Linked DNA regions of Homo sapiens: region 2 is linked to region 1. Evidence: promoter capture Hi-C in 16 types of primary human blood cells and fetal thymus (Javierre and others, 2016). All regions are on one chromosome and are shown on one strand. Each heading gives the region's core, a stretch centred on a gene start or on the middle of the fragment in contact. The rest is flanking DNA. Distances are from core to core; before and after follow the strand shown.

The links. Contacts are between HindIII fragments. The CHiCAGO score rates a contact against its expected background, and 5 or more counts as called.
Region 2: a contact is called between a fragment that was not itself captured here and the fragment with the promoter of PCARE in region 1, in 1 of 17 cell types (M2 macrophages). The highest score is 7.7, in M2 macrophages.

What each region holds. Positions count from the first base shown.
Region 1 is chr2:29,073,259-29,076,034 of GRCh38, forward strand. PCARE (photoreceptor cilium actin regulator) reads right to left here and starts at 1,265. Exons shown (of 2, transcript NM_001029883.3): 1 at 1-1,265. The coding sequence starts at 1,003. The HindIII fragment of the contact is 3,299 bases long and covers 1-2,197 here.
Region 2 is chr2:28,958,481-28,961,361 of GRCh38, forward strand. It overlaps a transcript of TOGARAM2 not described here. Among named protein-coding and RNA genes, the nearest start is that of TOGARAM2, 21 kb to the right of the region's middle. The HindIII fragment of the contact is 1,687 bases long and covers 754-2,440 here.

The DNA.
Region 1 (2,776 bases), core at 15-2,514:
AGCCACTCGCCAGGCTCTCTAGCTGCCTCAGAGCCCTCAGGAGGCGTTCATCCACATTCCTTTTTGTGCTCAGCTTATTTTCCAAGTGGGTTGCAGTGGAGTGGAGGTAGCTGCTGGAGCCCTCCAGGAAGCTGCCGGTGAGCGAGGCCACTGTGCCATTGAGCACCTGCAGCTTGCTGACTGTGTACTGTAGCAGCTGTTGCAGGAGATTTGGCTGCTCCTGGGGCTCTCTTTTCTTCAAAGGCCAAGCCAGATCCTCCCTGACTTCCTGCAGGAGCACTTCTCCATCCTTGGAGATCTCCCCCAACAGCTGGCTGATCTCCTCAAAGCACAGCAGCAAGAAGCTGACCATGGGCTGCAGCAGCTCCCGGGTCTGGGTGGCCTGATGGATGATGCACAGAATTGCTTCATATTTGGAGAGGCTGGAGTGTAGATAGGTGTAAGCCTGCTGGTGGGCCTTTACCAGAGGCTCCGGGAAGTCCACTTTGCCTTCAGGCTCATGAGCAGGGTGGATGGTTTGGTAGCAGTGGCTCTGTGTGCTTGACGTGTGACATTTTGCTGTCCTTTTCCATTTGGAAGTATCTTGGGTACTACTTTCCTCACTCTCATCTCCAGAAAAGTCTGCCCCTTGTGATCCATGGGAACCCTGTGTCTTGAACGGAATATCCTTAGCCATGTGGCTTTGTGATTTGTTCAGCTGGGATGAAGAGGTTTTGGTTCCTGGGATCAGTCCTTCCATATCTTTCCTTTTGCCTGAAGCAGGATCTCCCATGAGCTGACAAAGACCTTTAGCTGTGGTTTGGTTCCTCCTGGGACTTGGCTGCTCCTCTGCCAGGCCCTCCCCAGCGTCATAGCAGGTGGAGTTTTTAACCAGCAAAGGGATGGAACCTCTTTCACTTCCGCCCTGACATCCTGGCCGAATTGCTTTGGGCTTTTTCAAGAACTGAATGCCACTCTTTGCAACGCTGTTTACAAGGTCACTGTGTGAAGGTGTACACCCCATGATTTCAGCTTGTAGTCATCTTCCACCCACCTTCACAATTTTCCAAGAATCATATTTGAAATAGGAACAAAAGGCAATCTTACTAGTCCATCCAGGCAATTTTCAGGCCAGAATTCTTTGAAGTCCATGGTACAATATCCTAAACTTGGAACCAGCTTTCTTTATTTTCTTGGTCCAAATGTGAAGAGGGAGTGGTACCTGTCGTCCTGTTGTTGTTCTAAGTTTGGAACCCTCTGCTGTTAGTGAGCAGCGGGACAATTCTGAAGGCTCCCAGCCTGGTGGATTACGGGCCTGTGTTTTGCTCGCGTCCTGACAGATGTGGATAGCAAGTGCAGCTTAAGCCTATTAGGTTAATCATGCCCTAGCCAGTCAGCACTCACAGTGTGTTCTAATATAGAACTTCTCAGCATTTACTATCTTGGGAAGCGGATTATTTTTGCACGTGCTCATGCTTTTAATTCTGTTCAGACGCCTGCCATATGAAACCTAGAGAAATGAGCCATAATTGCAAAGGCTCTGGAAGAGATGCATTTGTGGAAGAGAAGAGAGGGCTCGTTGATTACAGGCCCTGGAAGAGAAGTGACCTTCACGGTTTAATAAGGGCAAACCAGCCAAGTGTGCTCCAATCTGCTGTTATCAAGAAGCCCCCAAAACACACAATAGATAATAATTGAAGTAATGCATTATTGTTTGTGTGGCTTATAAAAACCCCGGGACTCTAGTATAGAGAATGTCTCTAAATAAGATAGTGAATGAAGAAGGCAGGTTGCTTTTCCTTTGCATTAGAAAATTGAGTTAGGTAGCAGGAAAGCTATCCCCCCCAGTTTGGATGGGGACAGCAGGAAAAGTCACTGCCATGTAAAGCTCAAGGCTGGTCACTACGCTCAGGAAGGCAATGCTTTCATGGGAAGAGGCTTCTTATTCAAACTTCTTCATAGGAAAACAAGCTAAAAACTGGGCAGTGGAGAGCCATTTCATTATTAAGAGGAGAACTCAAGGGGAAGCCCATTTTTCTGCTCAAACTGAGCATGGGGCTCCTGCCTGTGGCTAAGGGTAGCAGCTGCCCATTTAAAACCTCCTTTTAAACTTTATTTGCTGTCAGTAAAATCTAGAACAACAGCTTGGCCTAGAAAGACTGGAGTTTGAATCCTGAGTCTTTCTCCTGTTAGTTGAGGAAACTTCTGATAGTTTTTAAGCTTTCCTGAGGCAGAGCTCATCTTTGAAATGAGGACCACGGTACTTACCTCACAGAGCCATTGTGAGGATTGTCAATTAATACTTGGTAAGTGCTTGACCCAAGGTAGGTACTCAAAAACATGCAGTTTCAGCCAGGTGTGGTGACTCAACGCCTATAAATCTCGGCACTTTGGAAGGTTGAGGCAGGCTTATCATTTGAGCTCAGGAGTTTGAGACCAGCCTGAGCAACATGGTGAGGCTGTCTCTACTAAAAATACAAAAAATTAGCTGGGGATGTTGGCACCCACCTGTAATCCCAGCTACTCCGGAGGCTGAGGTGGGAGAATCACCTGAGCCTAGGAAGTTGAGACTGCAGTGAGCTGTAATAGTGCTATTGCAAGCTGGCCTGGACTTTGGAAGTGAGACCCTGTCTTCAAAAAAAAAAAAAAAAAAAAAGTTTCTTACTCCTTTCCCCCTGGAAGCTAGGGCACTTATAATAATGAAAGTCATAAGAATTTCATTGGTTTGCGTTGGTTTATTCCTGAATGGTCTGGAAATAATTGCCTATGATGCACTTAGAGCCCTCTGAATCTGGTG
Region 2 (2,881 bases), core at 347-2,846, 110 kb before region 1:
TTTTTTGTAGAGTTGGGGTCTTGCTAAGTTGCCCAGATTTTGAACTCCTGGGCTTAAGCAATCCTCCCTCCTTGGCCTCCCCAAATGCTGGGATTACAGGCGTGAGCCACTACAGCGGGCTGACATTCCATTTTTGGATTTTGGAGTGCACACGTGTGTATTGGCTTTTTGCTGTTCCTTGGATTTGGTGAATTCAGGGGAAGCACGACCAGGTTGCTACAATTGTATTTTTTCTCATCTTCACCAGGCTTGTCGGGATTGTCCAGGTTACTTTCTCTGGTTAGAAGTATAATACAAACGTCAATATAAAAAGCATCCACTAGGTGCCAGTCTTGCTTTGTGCAAATTTCTTTTTATCCCAGCCTTCTGGGAGAGCAGTTGGTTCTGGCCGCCTCCTGTCTAAACTCCCGTGGAGGGTGGGGATGTGAGCTTTCTGCGCGCCAGCCCTCTGGGATTGGCTGAGAGAATCTCCAAAGTGCTTGCAGCTCTTTTCTGGTGTCCAAGTCCTGAAGCGGAACCTGAATGACTGTAGCCCAGCAGCAGGCGTGATGAGAGGGGCCTGGAGGGAATCCTGATGGGAGGAGATCGAGTCTCCAGGTGGTGGCTGCACCTCCAGTTTCCCTGGCCTGGCTGTACCCTCCCTGGACCTGACCAAACTCCCCACCGGGCTACAGATGCTAACCCGAAAAAGTGCCCAGCTGTCAAGAGAAGCTGCAGCAGCTCTTTAGTCTGACACAGTTGCTGAGCATAGGAAGCTTGAATTGATGTTTCCCCCTCATGTCCTTAAATAGTGAAGTAATAGCCAAAATAAGAAAGAAATTAACCACATCATACACCAACTGCATCAATTTCCCCATAGACTTTGTCCATGAAATCCAGGAGTTTACATATGTCAATGATAGTGGGGAAGAGGGAGAAGAATATGGTTTTTCACTTCTTTTCCCAACTTAGGAAAATTTCAAATATACAGAAAAGTTAAAAGAATAGTATAGGCCGGGTGCGGTGGCTCATGCCTGTAATCCCAGCACTTTGGAAGGCCGAGGGGGGCGGATCACAAGGTCAGGAAATCATGACCATCCTGGCTAACATGCTGAAACCCCATCTCTACTAAAAATACAAAAAATTAGCCGGGCGTAGTGGCGGGCGCCTGTAGTCCCAGCTACTCAGGAGGCTGAGGCAGTGAACCTGGGAGGCGGAGCTTGCAGTGAGCTGAGATCGTGCCACTGCACTCCAGCCTGGGCGACAGAGTGAGACTCTGGCTCAAAAAAAAGAAAAAAAAGAATAGTATGATGATCTGTATATACACGCCACTTAAAGTAAAACACTGTTGATATAGTCATATGACCCTTAACAACGGGGATATGTTCTGAAAGATGTTGTTAGGTGAAATTGTGTCATTGTGAGAATCAAAGAGTGCACTGACATAAACCTGGGCGGCACAGCCCGCTACACATGTGGGCTATCTTATGTAGCCTACATTGTTTCTAGGCTACAAACCTGGACAGCATGTTCCTGGACTGAGTACTGTAGGCAGTTGGAACACAGAGAGATGTGTGTATCTAAACATAGAAAAAGCCAAGTAATACGCTATTGTATTATAATCTTATGGGACCACCGTTGTATATGTGGTCCAACATTGACCAAAATGTCATTATGCAGTCCATGACTATATTTGGCTATATTTTTCTTCATCTGTATTTGTGTGCATATATTTATTTTTGCTGATCTACTAGAAAGTAAACTGAAGGCATCATCACACTTTATTCTTAACTACTTCAGGGTGACGTGCCTACAGATTATGACTCCTGCAATAACTACAATACCATTCTTATATCTCTGAAGCTCCAAACCGTAATCCCCTAATACCATCCTCCTGTCTAATTATTTAATATTATTTAATTTTTAATTTTTTTTGAGGCAGAATCTTGCTCACTCTGTCACCCAGGCTGGAGTGTAGCAGCAGCACGTTAATATTCAGTTTCTTTTCAAATCAGGATCCAATCCACACTCACTCACTGGGTTTGTTTGTCAAGTCTTCTTTAGTTACTTTTGCTCTAAAACGGTCTCTTACCCTCTTGCCCCCTTAGTTTTATCTGTAACAATCACACACCGAGGAGACCAGGCCAGTTGTCTTGCAGAATGAGCCACATGCTGGATTAGATCATTTCCCTAAGTGAGTTTAACTCATTCCTGTACCCTCTGTATTTTCTATCATCTGGAAGTTGTACCTCGGAACTACCCAGTACAACTTTCTGTGATGACAGAAATGTTCTCTGTGCTGTCCAAAATGGAAGTCATTCACCGCAGGTGGCCAGTGAGCACCTAACATGTATCCATGTGGCTGAGTGACAGAATTGTTAATTTTATGTCATTCTCACTAATTTACGTTTAAATAGCCACATGTAGCTAGTGGCTATGGTCTGAAACAGCACAGGTCTTAAGCTTGATTCGATTTGACAAGACATCAAAGGTGATGCTGTATACTTCATACCGGAACACACCAAGAGGCAAGATAATGACAAAGTCTTTCTTTTTCTTTTTTTTGGTTTGAGTATGATGTTTAGTATAAGATAGAGTGGCTTGGCAGAGTTGGTGCAAAACTGAAGAGAACCAGATTCAGTTCTAGTCAGTGAGTTAGCAGCCTAGGGTCAAAAAAATTGACCCTGCTGTCCTGAGTCCTCTGAGGCCCTCTGCACATCACCAGCTAGAAGCTCCGAGACTGATATGCCACTGCTTGGAGGCTTGGGTAGAATCCAAGTGTCCTCAGTTTCCAGAGTGACAAGAGACTGGCCCCAGCCATCAGAGCAGTAGACAAAGGCTTTTGTTTAAAAAAAGCTTTGAGGTATAATTTATTATTTAATTTTTAATTTTTTTGGAGGCA